Linked DNA regions of Homo sapiens: regions 1, 2 and 3 are each linked to region 4. The links are contacts of gene promoters, found by promoter capture Hi-C in blood cells and fetal thymus (Javierre and others, 2016). All regions are on one chromosome and are shown on one strand. Each heading gives the region's core, a stretch centred on a gene start or on the middle of the fragment in contact. The rest is flanking DNA. Distances are from core to core; before and after follow the strand shown. Region 1 overlaps FRMD3 (FERM domain containing 3). Region 2 overlaps FRMD3 (FERM domain containing 3). Region 3 overlaps FRMD3-AS1 (FRMD3 antisense RNA 1). Region 4 holds the start of KIF27 (kinesin family member 27).

What was found. The method cuts DNA at HindIII sites, captures the fragments that hold promoters and counts their contacts. A CHiCAGO score of 5 or more calls a contact.
Region 1: a fragment that was not itself captured here is called in contact with the fragment with the promoter of KIF27 in region 4 in 1 of 17 cell types (M0 macrophages); the score reaches 5.3 in M0 macrophages.
Region 2: a fragment that was not itself captured here is called in contact with the fragment with the promoter of KIF27 in region 4 in 4 of 17 cell types (total CD8 T cells, total CD4 T cells, neutrophils and 1 more); the score reaches 6.8 in total CD8 T cells.
Region 3: a fragment that was not itself captured here is called in contact with the fragment with the promoter of KIF27 in region 4 in 1 of 17 cell types (monocytes); the score reaches 6.5 in monocytes.

The regions. Positions count from the first base shown.
Region 1 is chr9:83,298,360-83,301,059 of GRCh38, reverse strand. It overlaps FRMD3 (FERM domain containing 3), which reads left to right. Exons shown (of 14, transcript NM_174938.6): 11 at 1,874-1,948; 12 at 2,244-2,312. Among named protein-coding and RNA genes, the nearest start is that of FRMD3-AS1, 80 kb to the right of the region's middle. The HindIII fragment of the contact is 822 bases long and covers 899-1,720 here.
Region 2 is chr9:83,339,107-83,341,806 of GRCh38, reverse strand. The region is part of intron 5 of FRMD3 (FERM domain containing 3); the gene reads left to right. Among named protein-coding and RNA genes, the nearest start is that of FRMD3-AS1, 120 kb to the right of the region's middle. The HindIII fragment of the contact is 913 bases long and covers 876-1,788 here.
Region 3 is chr9:83,235,740-83,238,536 of GRCh38, reverse strand. The region is part of intron 2 of FRMD3-AS1 (FRMD3 antisense RNA 1); the gene reads right to left. Among named protein-coding and RNA genes, the nearest start is that of FRMD3-AS1, 18 kb to the right of the region's middle. The HindIII fragment of the contact is 4,774 bases long and covers 1-2,797 here.
Region 4 is chr9:83,920,157-83,922,856 of GRCh38, reverse strand. It overlaps KIF27 (kinesin family member 27), which reads left to right and starts at 1,425. Exons shown (of 18, transcript NM_017576.4): 1 at 1,425-1,486. It overlaps LOC105376335 (serine/arginine repetitive matrix protein 1-like), which reads right to left and starts at 1,956. Exons shown (of 3, transcript XM_011519284.2): 1 at 1,596-1,956; 2 at 1,159-1,503. The coding sequence starts at 1,956. RefSeq lists enhancers at 25-529, 1,144-1,893 and silencers at 1,263-1,412, 1,443-1,822. The HindIII fragment of the contact is 5,103 bases long and covers 1-2,700 here.

The DNA of each region.
Region 1 (2,700 bases), core at 60-2,559, 620 kb after region 4:
CCAAGCCCTGTGCCCTCCCTTGCCCATCTTACTCTCCCTGCTTAATATTTGTGTCCAGTGCCCTTCTGTGTCATCTTTGGCTGTTTACACAGGTGGTGGGAAGGGGCTTCTTTGCAAAAGATTGTTCCTATGGCTTTCCATTGTTCTCTCGATAAAGACCAAGATCCTTAACAAGGACCACTTAAGGTCTGGTCCTGGGAAATTGGATTCTGGCTCTCTGTCCAAGTTTGCCTTATTCTCCTTCGTACATCTGTACATTCACTTATCTTTATTAGGAAAGGAAAAAAAATATGTGTGTGTGTAGTAATAATAACATGGGAAAATGTGCATTGAGTCTTTTAAAAATGTATTTTATATATTTTTAAAAAATTTCAATACCTTTTGGGGTACAAATGGTTTTCAATTACATGGATGAATTATATTGTGGTAAATTCTGAGATTTTGGAGCACCTGTCAATTAGTGTATATTGCACCTAATGTGTAGTTTTTATCCCTGGCCCCTACTACCCTCCCCTTCTGAGTCTATAAAGTCCATTATATCACTCTGTATGCCTTTGCATATGCATAGCTTAGCTCCCACTTAGAAGTGAGAATATAGAATTTTTGGTTTTCCATTCCTGAGTTGCTTAACTTAGAATAATTGAGTGTTTTGAGTTCTCTAGATGTTTAGGCTGATGGCTTTGCGCCTGCTGGCCCTCTGCTGGGTATATCCACCACCACTTGCACCGTGCCCTGGTTAACACCTTTCAGCCTCTGGATCTCAACTCAGATGTCCCTTCCTCAGGGCATCTTCTCTGGCCCCCAGGCTAGATCAGCCATGTGTCTTTCTTGTACTTACCTTGGTGTGTAGAGCAGGGATGGCACTCAGTTAATGATTGCTGAGTGAATAAAGGAAGCTTCAAGAGGCTCAAGGGTGGGGATCACTGCGCTGAAACTTCCCTGGCTCCGTGCATGTCTTTGCTCAGGATGCTACAGATCATATTGATTTTGTCTGTGTGTGTTTAAGATTTTGTGACTATCAATATTTTAAACGATGCTGAACTCTCTGAGACCTGTTCTTTCTAACTTGTTGGATTTAATTGTACAAGGCTTAACATGACTGCTGTAGAGCCATCCTCAGCTGTCACAGTAATTTAGTGCCCTGTGTGCAGCCTTCCGGCAGCCCAGGCTCTAGGCTGCTTTTCAGAGTGTTGTTGTTTTGCTCTTATTTACGAGTAGGGCTCAGAGGTGCTGAATCAGTTCTTGTCTGGGCAGCTTCTGCCTCGTGTATCTTAGTCATCTACCACTGTGGGTTCTTTTAAAGGGCACTGGGTCATGGTGACACAGAAGCCAGTGACCATTCCTGTGGTGATGCGGGACCCTTGTTCCCTCACTTGGGCAATGCACAGTGAGTTCTTCGTGGCATAGTCAGTGACCTCTGTTGCCAGGAAGCTGTTTTCTGCCTCACTGTGGATACAGGAATAGGCAGCAAAGTGCCCTAACAACCACGAACTTCCTGATGCCATGTCACAAAATTCCCTCTTCTCCATATCTTCAGATAGAAATTAGGGGAGAATTCCTTCTGATCATCACTGCCCAGTCCTTTTTGCAGGTTGTGACCCACTAATGAATTATGAAACCCAGTATGTGGGTCATGAATTTAAAAAGAATGAAAGGAAATAGCGTAGAAAATATTAGAATGCAATACACATAGTGAAAGTAACTATTCTTTTGTGAAGCTTTTCTTATATTTTGTGTGCACAATGCAGGCTGAGTCACAAGGTAAATTACATTTCTTTCTTGCAGTAAAAATACCCCATCACCACACCTCTATAGCATGTTGTAAGTGGACTTTCCAATGTCCTAACCACCTGTGCTTTGCTTTTTCTTAAAGGTATGCAAAATCCAGTCAGATCAAGACTGTATCAAGCAGCAAGATATTTTTTAAAGGAAGTAGATTTCGATATAGGTGGGTACCAATGGTTCCATTTCAGTGAGGGGGTGGGGATGGGCAGCCACTTAAATTTCAAAATTCTGCTTGCAAATAAGTGGCCTTTGGCTTGTGCCTCTGTTTGAGTCTTCCATTTCTACTCCATTGCTGTCTTATGCTCACAGGGCACCCTCAAATTCTACCGTAATTTTCCCCCTCATGATTTCTATAGCTGGGTCAGACACCTGTGAAGTTAACAAAAGGACACTTGTGCATATCCCTCCCATTCTTCTCTGACTATGTGTGCATACACATGTGTTTCTGTCTTTTGCAGTGGGAAAGTTGCCAAAGAGGTGGTGGAGGCCAGTTCCAAGATCCAGAGGGAGCCTCCTGAGGTGCACAGGTGAGTGGATGATCACTGTGGGTTCCAGGTGGCTTTAAAAGCTGGCTTTTCCAAATCCCCTATAACATCCCTTTGTGTAGTGACATACAGCATTAAAGAAGGACATTCTCACTTCCTTAGACATCTCACTCAGACAGATTTGCCTGGGCCATGGCATGAGCACAGCTGGGCTCCACTTTGAGTTATGTGCTCTCAGGAGAGTCATTGATTAGGTCTGGAGCGTCACCTTAACAAGCAGGATGCTGTGCCATTGCCTGGGCAAACTCTGTCATCTCATCCTTTTAATCACCTGGCCAAACTCTGTCATCTCATCCTCTTACAAGTTCTCTGTTCCTGCCTGTATTCATCATATTTGGCCCGTTCCCATTGGCCTGACTCCGGGCTGACC
Region 2 (2,700 bases), core at 83-2,582, 580 kb after region 4:
CGAAATGGGTGTGTGTGTTGTTCTTCACCCCCTTCCCTGGGAACAGCTTCATCCTGGACAGCAGATTTTGGCAGAGGTGTTAAAACCCTTGGGTATTTTCCCATTTAAAGCACTATGGTTGATACTGTAATGGGAAACAGCCCCTTCACCGACACTGAAGTAGAGAATGTGTTTCTGAAAGCTGCCTCTCTTACCTTGGAGTGAAAGGACTGTAAATCCCATAGTTCCCTTCCTCCATGGTGAAGGCTGCACATCTTGAGTTAGGGTGCACTGTCTTAGGTAAGAGACAAGGGAATCGATACTAATCCAAGCAACAGACCAGCATATGAGGATTTCAGAATGCATTTAGGCATTAGTGAATTACCATCAATTCTCCAAGGACATGCTCAATATGGATCTATAATGGAAAGCTCGCCATCCTGTTTTCTGTTTGAAATAAAGCCACGGAGCCTCCATCCAGACGATCAGGGCCCTATTTTATCCCTCATTGCTATTATTACTGACCACACTCACACAGACACTGTGGAGAAAGTAGAGTGGGAAATGGACTGGCAGACCTCAAAAAGACCTTTTGGCTCTCAAATGCAGTGCTGTCTGTGGTCATTTATAGCAAATTCAGTAAAAGTGGTTCATAAAGGTCTGATTCTCGGGTGAGTACTTCGGCAGCACTGCAGGTCATTCACAAATACAGATATAGATGGGCATTTCAGAACTGCTTATTCTTACAGAGTAATAGGGAAGATGGAGTAAGTGATTAGCAATCTTATTCTTACAGAGTAATAGGGAAGATGGAGTAAGTGATTAGCAATCAGGAGGCACTGTCGCCCCTCATCGTCTTGTTTGCTAATGCTCTTTCAAGGAGTATGTTTTAAGCTTCAGTATATTCTGAGTTTATAAAAAACAGTCAATCAAGTTGGATGTGGTGGTGCACACCTGTAATTCCAGCTACTTGGGAGGCTGAGGCAGGAGGATTTCTTGAGGCCAGGAGTTTGATACTAGCCTGGGCAACATAGACAAGACCTTGTCTCCACAAGGAATACAAAACCAGTCAATCACCTGGAGTTTTGCTGCCTGTACATACTGAATCCAACGAGCATATTTAAGACATGCAATGCATTTTCTTTCATAATACAAATTGCAAAACAAACACAGAATCCTTGGGATCTATTTATATTCTTTCTTGGTAAAAATATCTTTCCTGTTCCTTTTACAAAACAACACCACAGAGGAATTCAACTTATCTCCTCTGCCTGGTATGTTCAACCCCTGTAGAAATCTTGACTCCTGCTGGATATTCAGAACTCAGTCCCGAAGTCACTTCCTCTGGTAAGTCTACCTGGACCACTCGAGCTAAAGCAGCTCCCTCCTGCACGTCATTCTTTCTCAGAGCCCTGTTGTGTTTTCTTGCAAACACTTAGATCTTGAGTTGTTTTTGGGCTTATTGTGCATTTCCTCTTATATAGAATCTAATTCCATGGGAGTAGGATCTGGGTGCTTTTTCACAGCACTCTTCCTGTGTCTGGCACACAGCAGGTTCTCCACTAAATATGTTAAATGAATCAGGGCACTTGCCTGAAATGAATCGGGGCACTTGCCTAAACTCCAGGTGATTGACAGGTTTTGTATTTTTTTGTAGGCAGGATCTCACTGTGTTACTCAGGGTGGTCTCAAACTCTGACCTCAAGCAATCCTCCTACCTCAGCCTCCCAAGTAACTGGGATTACAGGTGTGCACCACCACACCTGGCTTGATTGACTGTTTTTAATAAACTCAGAATATACTGAAGCTTCAAACTTGCCCTGATTAACCATGGTTAATTAAATTAGTCACAACCATTTAACGTTTAAATTTAACATTTCGTTAAATGACTGTGCCTGATTCATTTAACATTTAGTTAAATGATTGTGCCTGATTCATTTAACTATGGGAAAGACTGGTTGGCCGCCTGCTGGGATGGTATCACTACCTCATTCATTCATTTGTTCATGTGTTCTCCAAATACTTCCTGAGAAGTTGCTAGGGGGCCACATGGCAATACAAAGTTCCTGTGGGAAGATGGATAAGGAAACAGGCCATTGTGACCCTGCGTTGTTGGTTAGATGGAGGAACACACAGGCCCAGTCCCTGCTATGAGTGTCCCAGGAGGGCTCCTGACTTAGCAAGCATGGGTCAGGGAAAGCTCCTGAAGGAGTTGGCCCTGGAGCTAAAGGTCCTGCATCTCAAATTCTTTTGGAATGAGTCCTTTCCAAACCAGGGGAAAGCCTGTTGCTTTTTAGACTTACTGTTTCTGACCTTACTCACCCATTCACTTCAAACTCATTGGATTTTTCTCTTAGAATTGAATCCTTTTAGAAAAGTGCTAGAGCTGGTTTCAAACCGCAGGGCCTCCAGTTGTATGTCATTTGTCACGACTTCAACTTCCAAGTCATGAGCAGGAGGGAGAACCATGGCGGCTTACCCAACTCCTCTTGGTATGAATAGCTAGAAATCTTTATTCATTTTAAAAAACCTGCCTTCTGCTTAAGGAGAGGTCAGAGTTAAAGACAAGCTTTAGGGAATCAGAGCAGGGCCTGTGATGGGGACAGTGTTAATCTTGTCAGCAATCCGGTGCAGTCTTCACAGCATTTCTTCTCTAACTTTTCTAACATTTGCAGTGTGTAGCATTGCAAGTCTATAATATCTCACAAGATTTCCTGGAAA
Region 3 (2,797 bases), core at 155-2,654, 680 kb after region 4:
TGATATCTAACAGCAAAATCATAAAATTGGACCAATTTCTCACACTGTATACACAAATTAGCACAAAATAAATCAGAGACCTTGTGTTTAATAAAATTTACAAAACTTTTAGAAGAAACATAAGATCAGATCTTTGTAACCTTTGATTAGAGAGGATGGTTTCTAAGGACAGCAAAAGCACTAGAGACAAAATAAAAAATAGGTAAATTAGATAGTAATAGATAAATTTAAAAACTTTTGTGCTTTAAAAGACACTGTCAAGAAAAGTGAAAAGACAAAACACTGAAGGGATGAAAATATTTTTAAATCATACATCCGATAATGAATTTGTACCCATAATACATAAAGAATACTTACAACTCAGTAATAAAAAACATAACCAATTTTTAAAGTAGGAAATGTTATCACAATAGACATTTTGGTAAAGGAAATATGCAAATGGATAGTAAGCACACGAAAAGATGTCCAATATCATTAGTCATTAAAGAAATGCAAATCAGTGCCACATTGAGATTCTACTTTACACCCACAAGAATGGCTATAATAAAAAGACAGGCCACGAAGTGTTGCTGAGGATGTGGATAAATTGAAACCCTCATATATTCCTGGTAAAAATGTAAAATTGTGCAGCTACTAGGCTGGGCGCGGTGGCTCACACCTGTAATTCCAGCACTTTGGGAGGCCGAGGCGGGCAGATCACGAGGTCAGGAGATCGAGATCATCCTGGCTAACACGGTGAAACCCCGTCTCTACTAAAAATACAAAAAATTAGCCGGGCGCTGTGGCGGGCGCCTGTAGTCCCAGCTACTCCGGAGGCTGAGGCAGGAGAATGGCGTGAACCCGGGAGGCAGAGCTTGCAGTGAGCCGAGATCGCGCCACTGCACTCCAACCTGGGCGAAAGAGCGGGACTCCGTCTAAAAAAAAAAAAAATTGTGCAGCTACTTTGGAAAACAGTTTCGTAGTTCTTCAAAAAGTTAAGCATAAGGTTACCATACAAGCCAGCAATTCCACTCTTAGGTATATACTCAAGAGAACAGAAAACATATATTTACACAAAAAAATGGGTAATTTTCATAGCAGCACTTTGCATAATAGCACAGAAGTGGAAACAACCCGTATGTCCATCGGTTCGTAAATTGCATAAACAAATGTAGTGTATCCATTCCATAAAAATGAATGAAGTATTGGTACACGCTACACCATGGATGAACTTTGAAAACATTATGCTAAGTAAAAGAAGCCAAAAGCAAAAGGCCATCTATTGCATGATTTGATTTATATAAAATGTCCAGAATAGGCAAATCTATAGAGACAGAAAGTAGATTAGTGATTTCCACGGGTAGGGAGAATGAAGAATGACTGCTAATAGGTACAGAGTTTCTTTTTTGGGTGATAAAATTTTTCTTTGAATTATGTAGTTGCGATGGTCGCATGACTCTGTGAACAAAGACCAATGAATTTTATGCATTATTTATGGTATGTTAATTATAGCTCAACAAAGCTGTTAGCAAAAATTATATTTGTTGTGGTTCACTATGTTATTTTTTAACATATTTTGTGAGGAGTACGAGTTGAGTAGCTTTATTATAACCAAGAACCTTTCCATTTCTATTTGTCAGCAAGTTTTGTCAGTACTTAATTCTATCAAAATGAAAAATAGATAATGCTGAACCCAGTTTCATTTTAGCGATAAGTAATATTTGTGCATAAAGATTAAATAATTTGATTTATACCATTGATATTTACTTCTAATAAATTTTTAACTTTTGTTCAATAGTTACTTAAGCTATTATGAAATAACTATTAATATTTTCTTATGAACTATGAATATTAATATTTTAATAGATTCTACAAAAACTATTAAAAACAAAAATTTTAATTTTTTTACACAAAATAATTTTGTGCATCATTATTAGTGCTTCTGTAAAAATGACAAAAGGCCAGAGTATAAAATTGCTGCCTAGGAGATACTGATATAAAGATAGAAGTAGCTGGCATATCTGGAACAGAAAGTCGGTGTAATATGATGGCTAAGAGCTCAGGCTCTCCAGCCAGATGGCCTCAGCTCTGGTCTCAGCTTTCCTGCTCTTCTTAGGTGTAACTTTAGGTAACTCATTTGATCTCTTGAATTCTTGGCATCCTCATCTTTAAAATTATGTTTAACTACAGCACTTATCTCAGAGCTGTTATGGAATTTAAAAATAAGTTAGAATTTGCAAATCCCTTAGCAAAGTCTTGGACATGTAGTAACTACTTGAGAAATGCTAGGAGTTAAGGCCCATAATCTGGCACCTCCAGGTCATTCTAGACTCATCGTAACCATTTCACTCTTTGAGGACATCCTGTTCTACTGAAGTAATAGCATCATGGTGGCAATGCATAACAAAATTGGATTTGGAAGTTTCAGAAGATATAACAAGAACCAGAATTTGCTTCTAAAAAACATCTATTTTTCTTCTACATTTATTTATAAACAAAACATCTCGTTGCCTATAACGTGGATACACATCCAAAATAGTAAGACATCAGAAAATAGAATACATCAAAATTCCTTTCAGGAGGAAACTGTGTTTGTAAGAAAGAAATGTTTTTTTCTAAGTTGTTCAAAGTAGGGAGTATATTGCAAATGTATAGTCAAGTTACAAATGCAAGGTCTCCTGATTTCTTTCTCTGCGTGACTTTCTTTTTTCTGGTCCTCTGTCCTGTGCTATTTACCTTTTGATAAATGTTCGATGTGGAAGTTGATTCTCAGAACCCTTGGCACAATAGCCTTGGTTACCCACATCCATTTCAAGAG
Region 4 (2,700 bases), core at 176-2,675:
CTCCAGAGGCTGAGGCAGGAGAATTGCTTGAACCCATGAGGCGGAGCTTGCAGTGAGTTGAGATAGCGCCACTGCACTCCAGCCTGGGCAACAGAGCGAGACTCCATCTCAAAAAAAAAAAAGGAACTGAAAACAGACATCCAAATATTGTATGTGAATGTCCATAGCAGCATGGAAACAGCCCAAATGTCCACCACCAGCTGAAGAATGGATAAACAAAATGTGGTATGTCTATATCCATACAATGGAATTTTTTCAGCCCTAAAAAGTCCTGATAGGGCCGGGCAGGGTGGCTCATGCCTGTAATCCCAGCTACTCCGGAGGCTGAGGCAGGAGAATCGCTTGAACCCATGAGGTGGAGGTTGCGTTGAGCCTAGATGGCGCCATTGCATTCCAGCCTGGGCAATAAGAGCGAAACTCCATCTAAAGGGCCGGGCGTGGTGGCTCACGCCTGTAATCCCAGCACTTTGGAAGGCCGAGGCGGGCAGATCACGAGGTCAGGAGATCAAGACCATCCTGGCTAACACAGTGAAACAAACCCCGTCTCTACTAAAAATACAAAAAATTAGCCGGGCGTGGTGGCACGCGCCTGTAATCCCAGCTACTCGGGAGGCTAAGGCAGGAGAATCGCTTGAACCCGGGAGGTGGAGGTTGCAGAGAGCCGAGATCACGCCACTGCACTCCAGCTTGGGCGACAGAGCGCGACTCGGTCTCAAAAAAAAGAAAAGAAAAAAAAGAAAAGAAGTCCTGATAGATGTTACAACATGACTGCATCTTGAAAACATTAAGCAAAAGAAGCTAGACACAAAAGGTCATATACTGAATGATTCCATCAATAAAGAAATGCCCAGAATAGGTAAAGCTATCACAGAGTCAGAAAGTAGATTAGTGGCTGGCTGGGGTTGTGGGGAGAGGGGAACCAGAAGGAATGACTGCTAACTGGTTTGGGGATTTTCTTTTGGGGTTATGAAAATGTTTCTGAACTATATACAGAGGTGATGGTTGCACAACACTGTGAATGCATTAAACGCCACTGAATTGTGAGTTTTAAGATGGTTTATGTTAGGCAAGTTTTACTCAATAAAAATAAAAATAAACTGAATTGGTAGCTAAGATATTGAAACACGGTGTGGAATCGTTCTCACTCATTTCACGAACCCGTAGAAAGATGCTTGCGCTCAGGCCTCACAGACCGGTCCCAGCGCGTTGGTGGGACACAACTCGGATTTGCAGGCAAGCCCAGGGGCCGGCCCTTTGCGGACTTCCTGGGGACGCAGGACTCCTGCGCGGCGGGCTTGGAGGCGTGGCCAGGATGGGGGCGGGGCCAGGACGCGGCATCCAGGAGAGGACGCGGCGGGAGGCGGGCTTCGCCGGTTGCCAGGAGAACTCGCGACAACAAAAGACGCGGACGGCGGCTGCGCGGTGTGGCAGAGCGAAGCTGAGGAGTCCAGCGCTCGCCGACAGGGGCCTGGGCTGTCCCGAGCCGGTCAGTGCTCGGCGGGCCTGGCGGGCGGTGCGGGGAAGTGGGGCGCCCTCCCTTCGCGGTGCCCGCCCTCCAGCCCGCCGCGCCCGCCGCTCCCGCGCCCCCAGCCGGCCGTTGGGACTAGTAGGCTCCGGCTTGGGGTCGGGGCCGCCGCGGGTGGGTAGCGGAGGGTGGGCGGTTGGGGCGCCAGCTAGGCCTATGGGGGCGTCCGAGGGGTCTGGGGTCGGGGCTGGGAGCCGGCGAGCGACTAGAGGCAGAGCGCCCCTTCCGGAGGAAGTTGGGTCAGCCCTGAGGAGCGGGTCCCGGGGAACACCGATCGACCGGAACGCGGGACCCGGCCTTTCAGAGCGCACCCTGTGTTCGTCTCGTGTCGCTGCACGGCGTGAGGTGCGACGCGAGGGCCACCACCACCGAGCGCTTTGTTTTATCGCAGGCGTCTTTTTCCCACCGTAGAGGTTGAAACTTGGGCGCATTTCCCACCGTAGAGGTTGAAACTTGGGCGCATTTCCCACCGTAGAGGTTGAAACTTGGGCGCATTTCCTACCGTAGAGGTTGAACCTTGGGCACATTCAAGCCCGAGAGCTCCCTCCCTCGGAGGCAGGTGACTATAAAGAGCAAAGCGCCCAGATTCTTTCTTTGAAACACCTTTTAAGTAACACCTTTTAAGTCTCCAGTGTTGAAAATCCTTGTTGTTTGCCCTTCTTTACTCTTTTGTCGTCTTTACGCATTTGGGGCCTTTTCTGAGCTCCGTATGCGATTTACTGTCCATCTACTGGCAAGTTTTTTATGAAAATAATTAACAAACCACACATTTAAGACAACCACTGCTTTCTGGGAAATCAAGGGTACGGGATGGCAACGGTTTTTGGAGACACTCATTCCTGACCAGTGACATGACATGAGGGATTCAATATTTCTCTTGCCTTTGCTCAGATTTCAAAAACCCGTTGAGTATACTTAAATACGACCAATCAGATTTTGCTTTTTTTTAAATCATTTATTGGCAACATAATACGTATGTTTCTGATGACTATAATTGATCAGAATCTGAAGTATAAGTGCTATGGATTGTGTAAAAACTTTATTTCTTGTATATTGATGTTTTACAAGCCCTATGTTTGTGGACCATTACTATTGTTTGTTTGTTTTGTTTTGAGACAGGGTCTCGCTCTGTTACTCAGGCTGGAGTGCAGTGGCACACTGCAGCCTCAACCTCC